Regions from separate parts of the Homo sapiens genome. Here region 2 is linked to region 1. Evidence: promoter capture Hi-C in 16 types of primary human blood cells and fetal thymus (Javierre and others, 2016). All regions are on one chromosome and are shown on one strand. The core of a region is centred on a gene start or on the middle of the fragment in contact, and the rest is flanking DNA. Distances in the headings are between cores, read along the strand shown.

Region 1 (6,062 bases), core at 2,161-4,660:
CTGCTTTCCACACATGCTGTGTGGTTTCACGCCCCCAGGCTTTACTTAAGTTTTTCTCTGCCCTGCCCACGTCCCTACCTATCTAATTTCTCCGCTTTCTTCAAAGCTTCATGAATCCTTTCTTAATCCTCTATTCAGAAATGATCCCCTCCTCTTATGTCACAATAGCAGGGCATTTTCACTCTTCTTATGGCATTTTTTAAAAACCTGATGTAGATGATTGAATTGTGTGCTTATGCCTGATATCTTCAACAAGTGGCTATTAACGAATTGAGGGGCAGGATCCATAGCTGTATCACCTTTCTTTGTATATTCCTGAGTACCAAGGGTTTGTCCATTTATCTTTTCCATACACAGAGATGCTCTCTCTCTCTCTCTTATCTTCCCTCTGTCTCTCTCTCTCTCTCTCTCTGTCTCTCTCTCACACACACAGAAGTTTGGACACAGTATAGTCTTATGATACAAACTTCTAATCAGAAATTTCATTTGTGTCTGATAGACTATTGCTACCATCTCCCTAACCTCACTCTAAGAACATTTAATGTCTAAATTACCTTACAGGATACCAGTCAAATTTTCCTCTGGCATGGTTTAACCCATTGCCTAAGAAAAAAGTAATTTGACTTTTTTTTTTTTTTTTTTGAGACAGAGTCTTGCTCTGTCACTCAAGCTGAAGTGCAGTGGCACAATTTCAGCTCACTGCAGCCTCCACCTCCTGGGTTCAAGCGATTCTTCTGCCTCAGTCTCCTGAGTAGCTGGGACTAGAGGTGTGCCACCACCCCTGGCTAATTTTTGTATTATTAGTAGAGACGGGGTTTCACCATATTGGCCAGGCTGGTCTTGAACTCCTGACCTTGTGATCCGCCCACCTCAGCCTCCCAAAGTGCTGGGATTACAGGTATGAGCCACGCCCAGCCTGAAAGTAATTTGACTTCTAATAACACAGAGGAGAATTCAGTTGTCAATATTTCCACCTGATTAACAGATGTGCATGTATGTGTGTGTGATAGGCACTTGGCCACTCCCAGTGTCAGGTTGAAAAATTGCAGGCTGTGTGAAGATGCTATTTGACACACAGAGTATACTTTTAACTGTCTTCTGTGATTTTGTGTGTGTGTGTGTGTGTGTGTGTGTGTGTGTGTGTGTGTGCTGAAGTCATTCTTTGGTATCCACAGGGGGGACTAGTTTCAATACTCTCACAGATCCTTGGATGCTCAAGTCCCTTATATAAAATAGCATAAATTTGCATATAACCTCCTGCATATTACATCATCTCTGGATTAGGTGTAATACATTATATAATGCAAATGCTTTGTAAATAGTCACTTTGCTGTATTTTTTTATTTACGTTATTTTGATTGTATCATTGTTTCATTTTTTTTAAAGTTATTTTTCATCCATGGTTGGTAGAATCTGAGGATGTAGAACTGTGGACGCAGAAGGCCTACTGTGTAGCATTTATCAATGCCCAAGAGAAATGAAGAATTGGAGTAAATAAATGAGTCACGGTCTTTCACATCTATAAATGTGCTACTTCCACCCTTTCCTGCAAAGAGCTGACCATGAGTTTACTTAAGTGTGGTTAGTGCATTCCAGAACCAGTAAAGGGTGTGAGAAGGGTACCGTGGCAAAATAACTTTCTAAATATATTGTCTGCTATAAGATCAAGAGGAAATAAGAGGTTCTCTAGCTGTGAGGTGCTGAGAGGGCCATTGCTTAAGGCAGTTCAGCGATGGTGAGTTGAGGGCCGCCTTTCCCCTCCTCTCTTCCTGATAACCCCATCCCAGGATGCCAAGTGGACGAATCATCTGTATAAAGCGCTCTGCCTGGGGAGGACAAATCGCAGACGGTATCTCCCCTATGCATGTTAGCCTGTGTCTACTCTTGCCCCCTGCCCTCCCTGAAGGCAATGCACTGCCCTTTTCAGCGTGAAATCCCCAGGCTGGGGCTGGATTCTGAGCTCTACATTTCTACCTCCCCCCTCTCCAACCCCCGCTATTTCTATGTCCTCACTGATAAGGAAGGAGCTAGGGTCCTTGTGGAGGCCGGGGCGAGGCAGTTGAGTTTTCTAAGGAGCCAGAGAGAAAGTGCAGATGAAAGGACCCATCGTCAGCGTTTGCAGGTCGCGGTAACCCCAGGCCAGATTGACATGGGCTCCGCACCCGGGCCGGTGATTCTGCCTCTTAACCGCTCTTGCAGGAGAGGTGACGTTAATCTCACAAACGTTTTCCTACCCTTCTAGGAGAAATAACGATAAGCCCCAATCTTAAGGAGCAGAGAGTTAGTTCCGGGCGTTTGCCACGGCTCCCTCACTTCAATTTACACTCGCACACGCGGGTACGTGGGTGTTCGGGGTAGGGCACTGATCTGGGGAAGGTCTCCCCCCCGCGACCCAACTCATCTTTGCACATTTGCAGTCCTCCCTCGGTGCACTCCTGGCGGGGATCTGGCCAGTGCAGCGCACTGGGACCGAGGGCAGAGCCCGCGGAGTGAGGCCAGGAGAGACTTCAGGCCTCTAAGGACACAGCTGAGGCTAAGGCTGAGTTGAACGCAGCCCCTCCCGCGGCTCGTCCCCTCTCCAGTGTCTCTCCCGTAAGGTGCCGCTCCCAACAGCAATGGGTCGAGATGTAGAGGAAACACTCTGTACGTTATTTTTCCGCCCACCCTTTAGCGCCTGAGGAGACAGACAGTGTAGACTTTAGGGTACAATTGCTTCCCCTCTGTCGCGGCGGGGTGGGGAGCGTGGGAAGGGGACAGCCGCGCAAGGGGCCAGCCTGCTCCAGGTTTGAGCGAGAGAGGGAGAAGGAGGTCCACGGAGAGACAAGAATCTCCCTCCTCCCACGCCCAAAAGGAATAAGCTGCGGGGCACACCGCCCGCCTCCAGATCCCCCATTCACGTTGAGCCGGGGCGCGCTCGGGGCGGTCGCCTGCAGTATCAGTATCAGCATCAGCATCAGCATCAGCATCTGCATGAGCATCAGCTCAGCTCAGCTCAGCTCAGCATCAGCTCAGCTGTCCTGAGGCAGCCGGCGGCTGTGAAGGAGCTCCAGGCTGCCCCCATCCCCACGCCCTTCTCGGCTCAGGGCGTGCATGAACCTGCGGATGGCCGGCGGGCGAGTGGCGCCTTCGCGATCGCGGCCGCCCCTCTAGGCGGAGGCACCGGGGACCGAACCCGTGACTTCGAGCTCCACTGCGGACGAATCCCGGGACCGCGCGCCTCGCGGAAGAGCGGCCGCCGTGCAGCGCGGAGGGATACGCCTCGGCCGCACCTCCCCTCGCCGCGCCCCCGCCCCCGCCGCCCTCCCCGCCCGGCTCTGCTGCCGCCGCGGCGGCCGCTGCTGCTGCTGCTTCTGCCGCCGCTGCCGCCGCCGCTGCCTGGATATAGTGCGGCAAGAGCGGAGCTTGCAGTCACTTTGCGAGGAGGAGCGCGCGGGCTGCGGGCGGCTGGGGCACCGCGGGAGCGGCGGCGGCGGCTCTAGCAGAGGCGGCCGGGGCAGCGAAAGGTTCTCTCTCCAGGGCTGGACTTAATAACTTTGAAACTGTCCACCGGTGTCACGTCCTGAACATGAGCCTCCTCCTCTCCTTCTACCTGCTGGGGTTGCTTGTCAGTAGCGGGCAAGGTAGGAGTGTGGCGCTTTATTGCATTTACTTTCCCTCCCCCTTCCACCCGGCCAAGAGAGGCAAAGAGGGAGGCGCAGGAAGAATGAAATGAAAGAACTAAAGTTACAGTTATTGCTGTTGTTGTTATTATTATTTTCGTTCTTTCTCCTAGCTGTCCCTAAAATTGTATCTGTTGTGTGGAGACCCTTAAATAAGAGAAGGGAAAATACAGAATTGGAGAGGGGAATCGGTGAGCAGGATATCCAGGGAAACCGCTTCTTCTTCTTCTTTTTTTTTCCTCTGGGATTATGGCTTTCTCTTATTTTTATTATCAGAAATTGGATGAGTGTGTTAACAGTGAAATATCTGAGGTTGCGGAAGGAAAGGGCACGATGGTGTTTTACAGAAGCAGCAAAAACTATCAGTGTTAAACTCATTTGCAAAATATCTGCTGTGTGCAAGACGTTCGATTCTTGGAGACTCTTTTTTTTTTCCACCCCTTTCCCAAAACCCTAATTCCTGACTATGAAGTGAATGATGATGGCTTATTTCTGTTGGAAACTAAGAGAGGGGCCGTGGATATTGTGTGTAAGAAAGCAAATGGATAAAACTAGGGATGTGTTGCAGTCATTCATTTTGACCCCAACCCCTTATTAATACAGAAAGGTGGAATCATTTTATAACATTACATTGTAATTACACCTGTAGAGGATTTTTGGGGTTGTGGGAGAACTGGTGGAAGCTTTTATCTCTTAAAAAAAAAAAATGAATAGCCTGGTAGAATAACCTGAGAGGGAATTTGTGGAAGCTATCACTGTTTGTCTCTAGAGAGATAGATATGAATTTATCTGGCTGTTTAGATAGTAAACACTCACATGAAATATATTTACAATAAATGGAAGCATTTTCAACTGTCCAGACAAGTTTGGACGTTTAATTAGGGACACAAAATGCTAAAACATGCATTGGTGAAAGTCTTTAAAGGAAAAATAAAATAGCACTAATTTTGAGATATGTAATGATTGCAAAGAATGTTATGTTGTTAGTGTAGTGTGAAATTGGTTTTTTAAAATAATATAATAAATTACAAGACAAGTTAAAATATCCCCAAGATATTCAGTTCTAAGCATTTTTAGCCTCTTCTGTATTGCTCGTTTGGTCCAGCAGGGGGTGGTAGAACTCCATTTTAAGCCCAGAAGTTGGTTTCTGCTCTTCCACAGAGTCCTTCTATCATTCTTCAGCAGGGCTTGACATTTTGGATGTGAAGCCTTCCTTTTTCTGCCCTTCTCCTCCCCACAGCTATAGTGTTAGTGGCGGATGAAACACGATTGGATGCAGATTTAATGTTCAGAAATCAGTATGCAAATGTTGGATATTCCTATAGTTTGTAAAGTGTCTTGATAAGATTCTGCTCATTTTCCCTTCCTAACATAGAGTATGAAATATTTCAGTCTTAGCAAAATTGCAGATATGTCCATCTGAAGCTAATACTAGCCCAATTCGTTAATTCAGTGGTTCTTAAGCAAAGATCAGCATGCACATATGTCCTACAGATATGCTTCTTTAATTTTCAGATAGCTGCTGATTGTGTTTAACTGTTCATTTATAGCATAGACAGGTATTTTTGAGCACCAAGAAACAATCCCTGAAAATTGCAGTTAAAATACAACTGCAATTAAATAAGTGTAGGTAGTGTGGGGCAGAATGGGAGCATAATAGGAAACAAGTTTATGCAGACTTAGGATTACATTGTGAGTGGTTTGGAGAAGAAAAATGTCTCAGTTGTGGAATCTGAATTTATCATTGTAGAGGCTAAGTGTGTTGGAATTTGGAGACATAGGAAATTAGAAATGTTTAGATATATAGGTTTAAATAGTACACAGAGACATAAAATTTGGATGTGTACATGTAACATAGATGTGAAATTGTGATTCAGCTAATTTGTAAGTCAGGATACGAGGTGGTTATGAAGAGGCACTCTGAGACAAGCATCTCTGAAGGGGAGCCCATATTCACTGTAATGAAACAGGGTAGAAGGAGACCATCATTGTAAAGATCTCTCTATCTAGTACAATTTCACAATGTGTGGCACTCATAGAGACACAGATATATATCAGAGAGACGTAGCTTTTGTGAAAGGGAACATATAGTACTTCTATGCCATGTGTCCTGATGAAGTCAGAGATGCTTGGATATAGATATCCTCATCCTGGAGTCCAATTCCTCTATGCTAGTGTTTTGTTCTCTAATTAAGGATGCAGCAGCAAGTATCAGACACACCACCGGGAGCTGTTTAAAAAAACAGACCTAGTGTAACTCATGATTTTGTTTATTCTCTTGTAAAGAGGGCCATGGAAAAGCCACCAGTCAGTGATCCCTGGTCTTGCCTTAGAAATACTAAAATCTCAGCTTGCTGATTTATGTGTCCAACAGTATACTTGCAGGGGATTTTATGAAGCATG
Region 2 (6,062 bases), core at 1,495-3,994, 2.0 Mb after region 1:
ATTATATAGGACAGTATATATAAATCTATTATTTTGATATGAATTAATTTGTAGAATACATTAAGCCACAACTACAAATACAATTTAAGAGTTCTTAGAATATAAAAATGAATATTTCACAATTGTACTTAAGACCTTCTGCTCTCTTTTTAAACCTCCAACATCTCCTTGTCTGTCTTCATTCCTGCCAAACAACTTTGTTTCTTATCTGATAATGAAAATAGATTTGATAAGAAGGAAATTCTTATCAGCTCACATTAGCACTTTTACCCTTCTACCCACGGTTGTCCTCATGTTCTATACTTTCTTTTCTGCTGCTTTGGCTTGGCAGTCCATATGCCTCTTCTCAGAGGTTAGATCACAGACACTCTCATTTCCTGAAGGTCACTGATCCGGATTCATTTATTTATGGCGACAGCTTCAACCTCCCTCTCTCTACTGCTGTTTCTCAGCAGTAGGCAAAAATGTCGTTATTTCAGCCATCTTAAAATCACTTTCACTGGACTTAATTTTCCTACTAATCACTAACCCATTTATTCACATCCCTTACAGAAAGCTCTTCCAAAGGAGTTTCCTTTACTTGCTGTTCACAATAGCTTTTCTTCAGTTCTCATCAGAACCAACTGTGTTTAGGCTTTTGACCAATGCATCACTTCACTAACGCCGTTCTTGTCAATATCACCAAGGATCCTTGCTTTTTAATATGTAATGGTAAAGTCTTAGTCCTCTTCATCTCATCACAGAATTTAACACACATTATTAGTCTCTCCTCATTTGTATATTTGCTTCACTTGCCTCATAAATACCACTGTCCTCCTTCACCAGAAACCCATTTTCAGTGACTCTTTCTTAGTTTCATCTCAATTCTTTCACCTCTTTACACTGAAGGGTTCCAGGCCTGAGTCCTTGAATCCTTTATCTTTCCACATACACTCTTTTGTGTTCCCAACCCGCTTCATTGTTTTTAAATATAATCTAAACCTGTATGATTTCTAAACGTATACTTCTTGCCTGTGGCTATATTCACATTGACTACAGAAAATAAATCAAGTTACAGAATTAAGGTGAATTTTATTCATTAATCTTACTGGGGAGAAGAGACTGAAGCCTGAGTCTCAGGAGCAGCCCTTTAGACAGATTCAATCAGTATTTCAGCCCACTTCTTATATACCCATGGTGGAGGTTCAGTACTTGCAAAATCACATCGCACCTGCTTACAAGTTACATTAAAGTAGAATCACATTGTGGTTTGGGTGTAAGAGTACATTTAGTTCTAGATTACAGAAGCATAATAACTAACCCTGTCAGACATTATTAATCTTATGTGTAAGAAAAGGAAAAGGCTAAGGTCATTTCTCTTTTCTTTTTTTTTTTTTTTTTTTTTTTTTTTGAGATGGCGTCTTGCTCTGTCGCCTCGGCTGGAGTGCAGTGGTGCAATCTCGGCTCACTGCAACCTCCGCCTCCCAGGTTCACGCGATTCTCCCGCCACAGCCTCCTGAGTAGCTGGGATTACAGATGTGCGCCACCACGCCCGGTTATTTTTTGTATTTTTAGTAGAGATGGGGTTTTGCCATGTTGGTCAGGCTGCTCTCGATCTCCTGACCTCATGATCCACCTGCCTGGACCTCCCAAAGTGCTGGGATTACAGGCGTGAGCCACTGCGTCCAGCCTAGGTCATTTATCTTTTGAAGAATGTAGTGGCTCAGGCAAGAGACGTAGGGGACCATGTTCTGTATTCTATTTTGTCTTCAAAGCATCTTTCTGGAGACCTATATGTCATCATAGAGCCAGAGGCATTGTGAAATTATGCTGGCAAGCAGAAATGAGTAAACACGGCTTTTTATGTTTGCTGCTTTGTTTTACACTTTACTCCAGATTGGCATTTCCAAGCTTCTTGTGCGTTTGCACTCTGCAGTATAAAAGACATCTTAACCTAAAATGACAAAACTGTACTTAGGAACTTTTCCCAAAATCTGCTTGCTTCTAATGCAGCCTTTTGTATCTCATTTAATAGCAACTTTTTTTCTTAGTCTTCAAAATTTGGGAGTCACAATTGACTGTTATCTCCTCTCACACCCCATATTTGATATTAAATTGATAATACATTTGGAAGTTGTCTGCGTATTTTTTTTTTTTTTACCTCATCTACTGTAAACTAGGTCCAGGACACCTAAACCACTGCATGATTTCAGTAGTCTCCTAAGTACTCTCTCTACTTCTAGCTATTCCTCTTTTTTTTTTTCTCAACACAACCACCATAGTTAGCCTGTTAAGACCTGTGTCACATACACAGAAGTTGGTCTCCTCAATAAGCAGATTCTCAGATGGGGTTTAATCCACAGTAGGTTTATCAAGGTGTTTCTTTTCCTTTAGCAGCTATGGATGGAAGAAGAAAGAAGCAACATAGGCAGAAGGAGAAGTTAAAGTTGAAAGAAGACCCAACTGCAGACACAGCCAATCTCACTGGGTGCTCTGGAGCTGTAAAAACCTTTTAGGGCTATCTCAAAGTTTTCCAAGATGAGCTTAGAGGCCCATTCTTGTGGGATGCACCCTGAAAAGGGCATGATATTGGGCAAGCTCTCTGCAGCTGTGGCAAACTCTGAATTACCTGGAAGGTAAAGGCTGTCTGCCTGCCATCACTATCCTGGTAGCTGAGGCAACAAGATTCTCATCAAAGTGTGAGATGACCTGTATGTCACAATGTCTACACCATCTCATCATGTCCCTTCTCAGCTTCAAACTAAGGACTTTTCATTGCTTTCAAAATTGGAGCCATAAAGTTCACAATGACTTTCAATGCCCTACAACATCTAGACCTTCATTTAACCTCTTAAAATTCCCCATTTCACTCAACACTACTCCAGCATTTGTTGTCCTGTGTGTTCTTGGTCAAATATGTGAAACACACTGCCACCTTCTGGGCTATGGGCTTCCTCTGCCCTCGGCCTACTTGACGTGAACTTTCCCTAACAACTCACTGTCCACTTTCTCGTCATTTTTAATGATTTTTTCAAATATCATGCTGATCATATGAAATATTAAGAGCACCCAGCTTTACTTTCTATTTCTCTTTTTATCATTTATCTATCTATCCGTGTATCTATCATCACCTATTTATCTTCCCTCCAAGTTTTCAACATGAAGTACATTATTAAATTTTTATGTTCCTCAAAAGGGAAAAATAATTTATTCGTAGAAAATAAATGAAAAATGATTGAATAATGAAGACAAATGATAATGAGCTCTATAAAAAGCAAATATAATTTCGTAGCACAACAGGGTGATTATAGTCAACAATATTATACATTTTAAAATAACTAAAAGAGTATAGTTGAATGTCGTAACAAAAATAAATGTTTGGGTTGAAAGATCTCCATTTAAATATGCCATATGCCTGGATAAAAATATATCATGTACCCCATACATATGTACACCAACTATGTACTCACAAAACTTAATTTTAAAAAAAGAATGTAAAACATAAAATAAACGGTAGATATTAGAAGCAATAAAAATATATGTTTTCATATTTAAACAGTGAACAAATTTATGCTTAGATTATATAACCTGTATTACTGGTTATAAATAGCAATCACTATAAGCTTCCAGGAAAGATTATCCCAATAACTACTAAGATGTCTATAAATACATGAAATAAATGGAAAACTCACAACCCTTCCACAATACACATGCAAACTAAAGTTTGCATTTGATGTGTACTTAAGAGTCTATGACTTATTTTAACTAACTATAATATCAACAGAACCTTAAAAAGCATTTTAAACTCACCATGACTGAGGTTTTTCCTTTCTTTTTTTTTTTGTTTTTTGAGACAGGATCTCACTCTGTCATCCAGGCTAGAGTACAGTGGTGCAATCTCAGCTCACTTCAACCTTTACCTCCCAGACTCAAGCAATCCTCCTTTGATCAGCCTCCTGAGTAGCTGGGACTACAGTCACACCACCACACCTGGCTAATTTTTGCATTTTTTGTAGAGATGGGGTTTTGCCATGTTGCCTACGCTGATCTCGAACCCCTGGGCTCAAGGGAGGCACCCGCCTCAGCTTCCCAAAGTGCTGGGATTATAGGCATGAGCCAATGTCCTGGCCTTTAGATTTTTTAAAATAGAGCAAATTAACACACTTGCAGGGTATAGAAAACCTCATAGTTTCTCTCCCCAATTCAGCATCTATGAATTAGAAACTCTGAGGCTGTATCTCAGGAAAAAAAATTATATAGCTATTACTCAGATATGTGGGAACTTCCTTAATGTAGTTATAATATGTTGAGCTCACTTCCTATGAATAATTGCTGTGTAATGGTTCTCATGTCACTGGTATTGGTAAAGAAAATTATGTGGTTCTGTGTTTAATGGATAAATATTGCATATAATAAGAATAGCTTTGCTGGTGAGCAAGTGAAGTGGATAATCATGCTAAAGGACAAATAGTCACTATAACCCCAGATATTGTATGTGTCACATACTAAATTATGAATTATTTGCATTTAATTGACCTCATTCATTAGACATGAATGGGTTTTCTGTTTTTTCTCCATTTTTACCTTTGTTTTATGGCTGAAAGTTGCTTGGGAATAAGATGAAAACATACAGCGATTCCTACAAATGGAGGTATGTTGTACTGATTAAAACATGGGCCCTGAAGTAAGCCCATTTTGTTCTAAATCTCAGCTATATCCCTTCTTTGTTGTGAGAACTTGAGGAAATAAGTAAGCATCTTTGCACTTCAGATTCCTCATCTGTAATATAACTACCTCTAATACGTTGGGATGTCAAGAAGATAAAGGATATTACTAGAGGCTGAGGAACTTTGAACATTTTCTAGTAGTACATAAGCTTTCAACATAGGTTAATTTTCCACCTGTAAATTATCTTAAGGATGAAGAAGATTCCTCCTCCATTAAGTAGGACTTCATGAGGAAGTTGTATGGATCCCATAGACAACAACCATATTCTATCTCTAGATCCACTATGGCATTGAAGAATCATTCATATGAATGTGAGTAGGAGGACACCATTGAAAAAATGACTCACTACTTAGTAGAATTGGGAAAGGAGGGTGATAACACGAGAATTTCAAGACGCCTCATACCATTTTTGCTTGAATACTAAGAAGTAATGATGTGCAATGAGCAGGGAAAACAGAGGTAGGATATAAAGTTGGGTAAGTAAAAGCTACTTAGATCAGAGCATAGTAATGAGGATCTTGAATTCACTCTTTTTCCCTCCAACAACAACTAATTCATCTCATCCCAGTCCAGCCACACTAGTTTCCTTCAATTTGTCAGTTTGAACTTTCTATGCTTATTTTTGCTCCAAGACACTAGGATTTTCTGTTGCTACTCCCTGGTAGCCCTTTCTTTTAGTTCTTAAATAACTACTTCGTTAGCTGAGACTCATCTCAAACTCTCCCCCTATCTATGGCTGTGCTTCACCTTACTACCCAGTGATGCCTGTATTTACTACCGTCATCTCAACTGGCAGATTTTCTTCTTTTTATTTATCACTATTTGAGGTTTTATTATAATAACTGGGGAAAAACAGCCACAGTAAATTATTGGTTTGTGAGTAAAGGTTTTGTTCTTCTGTTGCTGTATGATGTCACATTCTATTGCAAATTTATTGCAAGTTCTGGACTAAACTGAGAAAATACTTTTTTTTTGGACAAATATTGACTTTTACCATGTGTAATTAGAATGTAACAGAATTTCTGAATGTGTCACATGGTTTGAAGACACAGTGAATCACCTTTTTATTATATAGATACCTTGTTTTCTCTCTGTCCTTCAAAATAATCTGACTATAAATGAACTTTAATAAACACATTTTTGCAAATAAGAAAGAATGATTGTATGCTTACTATTCTTATTTTGAAGAAAAACTTTAAAGAGCACAATATGCTGGTCTTCAGTGACCTTGCACAGGTTTTAAATGTAAAAAAAAAAAAGATTATAAAATTTAAAATTTGATTATCTGATGTCTGCAAAAATAGTCTTCAATTAACCTTCCAGTTTTAACAGATAAGTATTTAACCATCTTACTT

The links. The method cuts DNA at HindIII sites, captures the fragments that hold promoters and counts their contacts. A CHiCAGO score of 5 or more calls a contact.
Region 2: a fragment that was not itself captured here is called in contact with the fragment with the promoter of NCAM2 in region 1 in 1 of 17 cell types (endothelial precursors); the score reaches 7.1 in endothelial precursors.

Annotation. Positions count from the first base shown.
Region 1 is chr21:20,994,999-21,001,060 of GRCh38, forward strand. It overlaps NCAM2 (neural cell adhesion molecule 2), which reads left to right and starts at 3,411. Exons shown (of 18, transcript NM_004540.5): 1 at 3,411-3,620. The coding sequence starts at 3,566. The HindIII fragment of the contact is 4,236 bases long and covers 105-4,340 here.
Region 2 is chr21:23,013,901-23,019,962 of GRCh38, forward strand. No RefSeq gene overlaps it. Among named protein-coding and RNA genes, the nearest start is that of MIR6130, 62 kb to the right of the region's middle. The HindIII fragment of the contact is 1,712 bases long and covers 1,889-3,600 here.